Regions from separate parts of the Homo sapiens genome. Here region 2 is linked to region 1. Evidence: promoter capture Hi-C in human tissues and cell types (Jung and others, 2019). All regions are on one chromosome and are shown on one strand. Each heading gives the region's core, a stretch centred on a gene start or on the middle of the fragment in contact. The rest is flanking DNA. Distances are from core to core; before and after follow the strand shown. Region 1 holds the start of CNTLN (centlein). Region 2 has its middle 8.6 kb from the start of BNC2.

Region 1 (5,457 bases), core at 379-2,878:
AGCAAGGACCTATAAAATGGGCAAAAGAATCCAACAGAACAAACTATGAGAGAATGAATTTCTGTAATCCCAGCACTTTGGAAGGCCAAGGCTGGCGGACCACGAGGTCAGGAGATCGAGACTGTCCTGGCTAACACGGTGAAACCCCATCTCTACTAAAAATACAAAAAATTAGCCAGGCGTGGTGGCGGACACCTGTAGTCCCAGCTATTCGGGAGGCTGAGGCTGGAGAATGGCGTGAACCCGGGAGGCGGAGCTTGCAGTGAGCTGAGACTGCACCACTGCACTCCAGCCTGGGCGACAGAGAATGAATTTCATGAACTGTTTTATTAAACTGATGATACTGTTCACAAAGTTACTTTGATGTTCAGCAGCTCCTAATTGGTTTCTAAGTTGAAGACAGAGTGACTTAAAGATCTACTGTTCAGTGAGTTTCCCACATCCAATCTCCCAACCCTATCTAAAGGTTCTGGTAAAATCAAAAGAGATGATGGTAAGGATGCAAAACTAAAGGAAAATTCAATCTCTTTGAACATGAGTATAGTCAAGTCCATCCTTACAAAAACTCTACAAACAGGAAAGTAATTTTAATGCAATTGATTTAGCAAATGTTTTTCACTGGCAAGATCACATGAAAATGTGATTTCTCACTCAAGGACCGCGGAATTACCATAGCTGGTTAATAAACAAGTACCAAGCATCATCTATTGTTAAGTTCCCGGCTCTGAGACTTTCTAAACGTTACTCGTCTGTGTTTACAACTTAAGTTTGACTGGGTAAAAACAAAGCCAAGTGTGGGTTTGAAATTTTAAAAACAGGCTCCTTCATCGATGGATTTTACTCTAACCGAAGTGTTTACACTTTCCTGTTCATTTCAACTAGTGGACTGCATGTCACTCCTGGGCCCCCGGCAGGTATCAGCTACCGTCACCACCAAGAACTTGGGCTTGGGGGGGAAGCGGAGAGGATGCGACTGCGAGTATCCAAGTGACCAAAACCAAACCCGGGCGCGGAGGCGAAGCCTGTCTGGCCGCAGTTCGGAAAGGGGCAGGGGCCCGGGTTTGGGGAGCCGGGCGCAGCCGCGTCCCTCCAGCCCCCGGCCGCGAGCGAAGCAGGGTGTGCATCTGCCAGGGAGCGTCGCTGGGCGGGGTAGGTCCCAAGGCAGAGGGAGAAAGGCGCGCCTCCCCACGGGTCCCGGCCCCGCTGTGGTGGGGAAAGGGGGACTGCGAGACTCCTCGATACCTGACACAGGGCCAACTCCTCCTTTAGGCTGCTCAGCTCTTCCTCCAGCAGCTGCGTCCGGGTCACCATCGCCTCCTCTACCGAGATGCCCTCTAGCCGTCTGGACCCCATGGGCGCGCTGAGGAGGGGAGCATGAGCCGGAGCTGCCCCCCCAGGCCCTCGCCGGCCCCCTGACCCTTCTTCACCCACCCAGATTTTATCACTTTCGTCCGCGACCACCTCCCGCGCTGCGCCGGCAAAACCCGAGGCCTCGCTGCGCATTGCGTGTACTTCAGCTCCCCGCCCAACACGTGGGGACCTGGGGCCCAGCTGTCGCGCTGGGGGCGAAGGGTGCGGTGAGGGAGGCGAACGCGCCGCCATGGCTGCGGCTGCTAACGGGTCAAGTTCCCTGTTGGAAACTCCACCTCCCTTTCCCCAACCCGGCGAGCCCGGAACGCCGAACCGCGCATGCGCGAGGCTTTTCCCGCCTTGGCCCGCGGTGTCCCGTGTTCTCTGGTCCTGGCCGGCTTCCCGCGGGCAATGCGCCCAGCGCGAGCCTTGGGGTACGCACGCGCCGTGGCCCGAAAGGGTAAGGCCGGTCCGCCGGGCAGGCCATCCCAGCGTCCTGTGCCTGAGTCCTTGGCCAGGATCGCCTGGATTTCCCGCCCACCTAAAGCCCTGCCTGCCACTTACATCCCACCTCTTAAAGCCTTCCTTGACAAGCCCCCAGCCCCAAATGATCCTTAACTGTGAAATCCCTCTCCTTCAAGGCCCCTGCCAACTCGTGTGACACGTTTCATTGACCGCCCTGGAGTGTCAGTTACACGGCTAATCTCCCCAGCCCTGTTGTAAGCTCCTTGAGGATCAAGGAATACGTTTTACACTTAAGTGTTTTCTTCACACCCCTTGGCAAAACTGCTTTAGTACAGCTGACATCCAGCTGACTAATGTCAAGGAGATGTGGAAAGCCTTGTGCTGATCTGGGACTATCAAGCAGGTTTCCAACTTGAATGATGATCCTTTGTACACCCTTTGTCTTTTGTTTTGCAGGAGTCATGATTTCCTTTGAGTTTTTATGTCAGCTTCTTTATGCGTTGGCTGGATATCAGAGGAAGTGTAGCCCACATTGCTGAACAGTTTGGGTCCTTGGAGCAGTTTGAAATCAGTAATTTGGAGCGTGGATGAAGAAACAAGACCTACTTTATCTTTTGTTCTCTTTTTTTTCTTTTTCTTCTGGCTTTCTTTATAAACTTCAAATAGGTAGTAATCGTATCTTTCTTTGCCCTTCAAATACTTTGTTACTATTGATAAGATTAATGAGATGCATATTGAGCTGGCACCAGAACATCCCTGAAAGTTAGAACTGCCCTCTTCTTCAGAAAGGGTTCCAGAATACTTGGGGAAAGCTGAGATGGGGGTTGAGAGCAGAAGTAGAGAGATGACCACTTTACTGTTAACTTCATTTAACCAAAATATCACCATCTCTGCATGAGAATCTAGTCAGGATGCCAAAAGACACCCTCCCAATTAGAATCCTGCCAAGGCAACCAAGATAAGTGGACTTCTTTCAAACTGAAGGTGAATTCCTCACAAAAACTTATTAAAGAGTACATTAGAAAAAGTATGTTTATAAGCCTGTCTTAGAACTAGCTAACCTACTGAACATTTACCATATGCTGAGTCCAGTGCTAAGCACTTTTCATATATGAACTCACTTAATACATATGTCACCTTCAATTAGATTATTATATATCTCCATTTTTACTAGTGAGGAAACAGACTTGCAAGGTTACTGTAACTTCTCTGAAGTGCCATGTCTGGTATCAGAAAAGCTAGGCTTTGAATTCACTGAATTCCACTTAACTCTGAAAACCTGTACTTTGATCGCTACCCTGTCTCCACACCTGTGACTTGAAATACAACATTTGGTCTTGATAGTCTGTGAGATTTCACTAGACTTAAGACTGGGAAGTCTAACCACATAAGTTACGTGTTTGGCCCCAAATCAGTATTAATGCACATTTTTAATTGCTGTATGTCATTCACTCAAAAGGACATCATTTCACCTGATCATAAAAAGATCCTTTTGAAAAGCAGTGGTATAAATATGTATATGTGACCTCCCAAAAGGATAATATCCTGACTCTTTGACTAGGCATTTTTTTAAATTTTGTCTTTATTGGAGCAAAATACACAAAATACACAACATAAAATTTACCATCGTAGGCATTTTAAATGGCTACAAATAGGCCAGGCGTGGTAGCTCACGACTGCAATCCCAGCACTTTGGGAGGCCGAGGCTGGTGGATCACTTGAGACCAGGAGTTCGAGACCAGCCTGGACAACATAGTGAAACCCCGTCTCTGCTAAAAATACAAAAATTAGCTGGGAGTGGTGGTGCATTCCCGTAATCCCAGCTACTAGAGAGGCCACGGCAGGAGAATCATTGGAACACGGGAGGCAGAGGTTGCAAACAGCCAAGATCATACCACTGCACTCCAGCCTGGGTGATAAAGCAAGACTGTCTCAAAAAATAAATAAATAAATAAAATGGCTACAAATAAAAAACAATTCAGCAGCATTAACTACATTCACCATGTTAGGCAACCACCACCACTATCTGGTTCCAGAATATTTTCATCACCGGAGGCGGAAACCACATACCCACATTAGTCTCTCCACATTCTCACTGCCCCCGAGCCCCAAGCAACCATTAATTCCCTTTATGTCTCTACGGTTTTGCCTGTTTGGGATATTTCATATCAATGGAACCATATAATATGTGGCCTTTTGTGTCTGTTTTCTTTTATTAGCATAATGTTTTCAAGGTTCATCTATGTTATGGCATGTATTAGTACTTCATTCTTTTTTATAGCTGAAAATATACCATTGTATGGATATCCTCCATTTTGTTTATCCATTCATCTGTTAATGGACCTTTGGGTTCTTTCTGCCTTTTGCCTATTGTGAACAGAGCTGCTATAAACATTCACGTACAGGTTTTTGTCTGAACATTTATGTTCAATTTTTTGTTTATATACCTATGAGTAGAATGTCTAGGTCATATGTTTAATTTACTGAGGAATCACCAAACTCTTTTCCACAGTGGTTGTGTCATTTTACCTTCCCATAAGCAATGTATTAGCATTCTAATTTCTCATCATCCTCACCAACACTTATTTTTTGTTTTAGTTTTGTGTCATTTGCTTTTTTTAAATTATACTTTAAGTTCTAGGGTACATGTGCACAACGTGCAGGTTTGTTACATAGGTATAAATGTGCCATGTTGGTGTGCTGCACCCGTTAACTCATATTTACATTAGGTATATCTCCTAATGCTATCCCTCCCTCCTCCCCCCACCCGATGACAGGCCCCAGTGTGTAATGTTCCCCACCCTGTGTCCAAGTGTTCTCATTGTTCAATTCCCACCTATGAGTGAGAGCATGCGTTGTTGTTTGTTTTTTATGGCCAGTCTAGTGGGTGTAAAGTGCTGTCTCCTTGTGGTTTTCATTTGTATTTTTCCCCATGACTAATGACAATGAGCATATTTTCATGTATTTTTTGGACATTTGTTTCTCTTCTTTGGAGAAATATCTATTTATTCAAGTTCTTTGCTATTTTTTAATTGGGTTATTTGTCTTTTTGTTGTAGAGTTATAAAAGTTCTTTACTGGCAGACAATTTTTAAGAAAAGAAACGTGCACATTTCTAGAAGTATGCATAAGGAGTTCTTTCTTGTATTAGTTATTTGCTGAAATGACAGAAACGGATGAAATGTTAAATACAAACACTTATGACTCAGAAGGATAAGTTAAATATCTGCACTGCTATGTGAATAAAAATGTGCAAAACAATCAAGGTGTTTTTCCTGTTCAACTCTTTGTCCTAATATTTAAAAGTGATAGTGTCTGTTCTGAAGAAATACATAATGAAGTCTGCTGAGGATTAAGTATATTAGAATAGAGAAACACATAATTCTCTCAATATCATCACTGTATAGTCGAAATCTTGGGAAATAATGGAAGAAATGTGCCAATTAATATGGTACTTAAATTGCCTCTTTTACTTTAATTTTTAAAATTTATTTTTAACTTCTGTTTTAAAAGAGAAAAAATGTATTAGCCGTTTCTCAGCCTTTATGTTTCTTTGTTTCCAGAAAGAATGAAGAATTTTAAAACCCATGTATTTCTGCTTTACCAGTTTTGTGTAATCTTTATTTGGTCAGCATAATTTAAT
Region 2 (5,172 bases), core at 2,563-5,062, 260 kb after region 1:
ACTTTTATTCCTATAGGAATGTGTTTTTCTTAAGATATTTCATGCTTAAGTGTTAGAACTTCGTTTGAATAAATTATTTCATTCAACCCCTTTCTCTGTTTCTGAGCCTATCTCACTGTACCAGGGATGGTGGAGAGTGGAGAAAGCTGCACTCCATAGGGCCTCTGCTCTCAAAGAGCTTACTTCTCATTAAGGAGGTAAATCAGACATACATAAAACAATCACAAATGTGTAAGGGCGTGTGATTCCATGAGAAATCAATATTCCAGGCTCTATGTGCTGCAAGAGCTTTAGAGGGGAGAGAAAAAGAAAAGGAGAAAAAGAGCCACAGAAATAAGGGCTTCATGAAGGATGTGTAATCTGATCAAGTCCTTGAGAGCAAGGCGGGATTTAAGAGCTGGGCGACACCTGGCTGGGCGCGGTGGCTCACGCCTGTAATCCCAGCGCTTTGGGAGGCCGAAGTGGGCGGATCACAAGGTCAGGAGATCGAGACCATCCTAACACAGTGAAACCCCGTCTCTACTAAAAATAGCAACAACAACAACAAAAAAAAAGCCGGGCATGGTGGCGGGTGCCTGTAGTCCCAGCTACTCCCGAGGCTGAGGTGGGACAATGGCATGAACCCGGGAGGTGGAGCTTGCAGTGAGCTGAGATCGCGCCACTGCACTCCAGCATGGGCAACAGAGTGAAACTCCGTCTCAAAAAAAAAAAAAAAAAAACCTGGGGGACAGCTACATGCTGAGTCCTTAGACCAGATAGTTAAAGCTTCAGAGTCTTTCTCAACCATATGATAGCGATAATAATGCCTGGCTCTGCAGTTTGTTGGAATGATTCAGTAATATAAAGAAAATGATAGAGAACTTGACCCATAGCAGATACTTAGTACAATTATTCTGTAATCATAAATGATCTAAATGTAGCTGTGCCTCTTTTTCAGAGGGGCTTCAATCCACCTTTGGAAATAGGTGGTAGTTAAGTTGGCACAGACACGAATCATTAAAGAGGAAGTAGTGCATCCAGCTGGAGAGTCAAGAGAAAAATACAGAAATAATTATGCATGTGTGCAGGGAAGGCTATCCCAGCAGAGCAGTGGATTCTTGCTGGGTTGGGAAAAAACACGGTATAAACAAGGTGAATCATTTATTCATTCCACACAAACTTGCTGAACAACTATTAGGTACCAGGCACTGTACAAGGTGTGGGCGTTGAAAAAAAGTGAGCCTTGAGAAGAAGACATTACAATTTGCCTTGACATGGTGGAAAACAGGGCAAGAGCCAGACACGGTGGCTTATGCCTGTAATCCCAGCACTTTGGGAGGCTGAGGCTGGTGAATCACCTGAGGTCAGGAGCTCAGGACCAGCCTCGCCAACATGGCAAAACACCATCTGTACTGGAAATACAAAAAATTAGCTGGGTGTGGTGGCATGCACCTGTACTCCCAGCTACTTGGGAGGCTGAGGCAGGAGAATTGCGTGAACCTGGGAGGCGGAGCTTGAAGTGAGCTGAGATTGCGCCACTGCACTCCAGCCTGGGCAACAGAGCGAGACTCCGTCTCAAAAAAAAAAAAAAAAAAAAAAGAAAGTTACCATTGTTAAAATAAACATTTTAAACAGAAAACATAAGTTGCCCTATCTGATAGTCTTGATCTTGGTTTCTTGATAAAGTTTCCATAGGTAGAAAATTTCTTTCATTTCCTGTTGACATTGGTCAAATTGATAAGAGGAAGTCAGATTTTTAAGATTAAGTCAGAAAGCATGCTAAAGTTGACATTAGTGTATATATTCCTCCGTATAAACTCATTTTCTCTTTTAGTGATGACAATATTTTGTCTGCTCTTATTTTTGTTTTGCTACTGAGATTGAATTGCTTTTTAAAATTCATATTTTTTTCCATAACATTTATATATTTTTTCTTTTTATTTACCAAGAACTGTAGTCCATTGTGAATATATTGGGTAGTATTTGAATAACGTAACATTCAGGATCTCCTAGAAAAGTTAAGAGCACTACACAAAATCGTGTGTTGAAATTGTCTATGTAAGGACTTACTTTGTTTCTAAAACATGTTATTTCTTGAAAGACAACTCATAGGATTTGTAAATAATATTTTATGCAATAAACTTACATTTACTTAATTTGCAAGAATGACTCATCAACAGGAGCAGATGGGGGCCAGGAACACACACTTATGTGGCCACAACTACAAATAAAACTAACTGATTAGATGGTAACCACTTCTGAAAATGTCACCTTAACTCCACTTTGTGTCAGCATTTCCTGCTGTTGAGTTCATGCTAACTAGTACTGTCTCTGTTGATTGTTAACTTTTAATTCTCACAGGGGAATGATAAATGATAATACTTTTCCCGTTTTACTGATTTCTTCATAGATTTTTCTCAGAATTTGGAAAAAAATATGTAAATTTTATAGGAAATGACAGGAGGGAATTCCTACATGGAAACTGTAAATAGACATGTCATTTCTCTGTAATTTAGAAAGCTTCAAGCTGCAATTAATAAAATGCAACCTCAAAATAGACTAAATGATAAGGGGATTGATTATATCACATAACAAGAAGTTTCACGCCATCTGGGGTTAGTTAATTCAGTAAGTCAGTAACATCAACAAGAGCTCAGGGGCTTACCACCTTCCCACTCTATCATTCCAGGTATGTGGGGTCCCTTTTGGTCACAAGGTGGATGCAGCTGCTTTGAAGTACCACAGTCTCATATACTAACATCCAGAGCAGAAAAGGGACAATCTATTTCTTGCCATTTTGGTTTTTTTAGTTTTAATGCATAATCTTTCCCTGACACCCCTCCAATGACTTCCTCATCCTTCATTGGCTAGAACTAACATGCTCATCCTTAAACCAATGACAGCAAGGGGGAAGAGGGCCACCATAATGGGTTTAGAACAATCTAGTTTAACCTGAGGTATGGAAGGGACACTAACTGTTGTGTACACCAGCCATTCTCTAACGATCTCTTTGGTTTTTTTTTTTTTTTTGAGACGGAGTCTTGCTCTGTCGCCCAGGCTGGAGTGCAGTGGCGTCATCCCGGGTCACTGCAACCTCTGCCTCCTGGGTTCGAGGGATTTTCCTGTCTTAGCCTCCCGAATAGCTGGGATTACAGTAGGGTGCCCGCCACCACGCCCGGCTAATTTTTGTATTTTTAGTAGAGATGGGGTTTTGCCATGCTGGCCAGGCTAGTCTTGAATTCCGGGCCTCAGGCAATCCACCCACCTCAGGCTCCCAAAGTGCTGGGATTACAGGCGTGAGCCACCACGCCCAGCCACGATCTCATGACGTCTTAAAAATTATTGAAGAATTCAAAGAGCTTTTTTTTTTTTTTTTTGAGACAGAGTTTCGCTCTTGTTGCCCAGACTGGAGTGCAATGGCACAGTCTCGGCTCACTGCAACCTCCGCCTCATGGGTTCAAGCGATTCTCCTGCCTCAGCCTCCTGAGTAGCTGGGATTACAGGCATGCAGCACCACGCCCAGCTAATTTTGTAGTTTTAGCAGACACAGGGTTTCCCCATGTTGGTCAGGCTGGTATCGAACTCCTGATTTCAGGTGCTTTGCCAGCCTCCGCCTCCCAAAGTGCTGGGACTACATGCGTGAGCCACCACGCCACCTAGAGCTTTTGTTGATAAACATCAATAGCTACTGATGTTTATTTTATGAGAAAAATTTGTTATTAATTCATTTAAAATAACAATATTAAACCCATCACTTGTTACTATACTGTGGTAGACAGAATAATGACCCTTAATGATGGTTCATATCCTAATCCCTGAAACCTGTGAATATGCAGATATGATTAAATTAACGATCTTGAGATGGGGAGATTATCCTGCATCATCTAGATAGACCCAGTGTAATCACTCATGTACTTATAATTGAAAGAGGGAGGAAGAAGGCTCAGTGTCACAGTGGTATGGCATGAGAAAGACATGTCTGGTTATTACAGGCTTTGAAGATGGAAGGGGGCCATAAGCCAAGCATTGGGGGTGACCTTTAGAATCTGTAAGAAATAAGGAAATAGATTCTCCCCTAGGGACTCCAAAAAGAAACACAGGCTCACAAACATGTTTTAGTTTAGTGAAACCTATTTCAGATTTCTGACCTCTAAAATTATAATGAATTTGTGTTGTTTAATCCACTTAATCTGTGGTAATTTGTCACGGTGAGAGGTGACAGCGTGCTGGCAGCCCTCGCAGCCCACACTCCCTCTCTGCGCTTCCTAGGCCTTGGCGCCCACTCTGGCTGTGCTTGAGGAGCCCTTCGGCCCACCGCTGCACCGTGGGAGCCCCTTTCTGGTATGGCCAAGGCAGGAGCCGGCTCCCTCAGCTTGCCGGGAGGTGTGGAGGGAGAGGTGCAGGTGGGAACCCAGGGCTGCGCGTGGCGCTTGTGGGCCAGCACGAGTTCTGGGTGGGTGTGGTCTCAGCGGGCCCGCAATTGGATCGGCCAGCAGGCCAGCAAGCCCCGGACAGTGAGGGGCTTAGCACCTGGGCCAGCAGCTGCTGTGCTCCTTCTCGATTTCTCTAGGGGCCTTAGCTGCCTCCTAGCCGGGCAGAGCTTGGGACTTGCAGCCTGCCATGCCTGAGCCCACCCCGCCCCTCCAATGGGCTCCTGTGCAGCCGGAGCCTCCCTGACGAGCACCACTCCCAGCTCCATGGAGCCCAGTCCCGCAGGGTGCGGGACTGGCAGGCAGCTCCACCTGCAGCCCAGTGCGGGATCCAATGGGTGAAGCCAGCTGGGCTCCTGAGTCTGGTGGGGACTTGGAGAGTCTTTATGTCTAGGTAAGGGATTGTAAATACACCAATCAGCACTTTGTATCTAACTCAAGTTTTGTAAACACACCAATCAGCACCTTGTGTCTAGCTCAGCGTTTGTGAGTGCACCAATCAGCACTCTGTATCTAGTTAATCTGGTGGGGACTTGGAGAACCTTTAAGTATAGCTAAGGGATTGTAAATACACCAATCAGCACTCTGTATCTAGCTCAAAGTTTGTAAACACACCAATCAGCACCCTGTGTTTAGCTCAGGGTTTGTGAATGCACCAATCGGCACTGTGTATCTAGTTAATCTGGTGGGGACTTGGAGAACCTTTATGTCTAGCTAAGGGATTGTGAATGCACCAATTGGCACGCTGTATGTAGCTCAAAGT

What was found. The method cuts DNA at HindIII sites, captures the fragments that hold promoters and counts their contacts. A contact is called where the count stands out against the background at its distance.
Region 2: a contact is called between a fragment that was not itself captured here and the fragment with the promoter of CNTLN in region 1, in 1 of the 25 tissues and cell types used here (small bowel).

What each region holds. Positions count from the first base shown.
Region 1 is chr9:17,131,211-17,136,667 of GRCh38, reverse strand. CNTLN (centlein) reads right to left here and starts at 1,628. Exons shown (of 26, transcript NM_017738.4): 1 at 1,243-1,628. The coding sequence starts at 1,602. RefSeq lists an enhancer at 784-1,347. The HindIII fragment of the contact is 19,584 bases long and covers 1-5,457 here.
Region 2 is chr9:16,876,634-16,881,805 of GRCh38, reverse strand. No RefSeq gene overlaps it. Among named protein-coding and RNA genes, the nearest start is that of BNC2, 8.6 kb to the right of the region's middle. The HindIII fragment of the contact is 4,359 bases long and covers 1,633-5,172 here.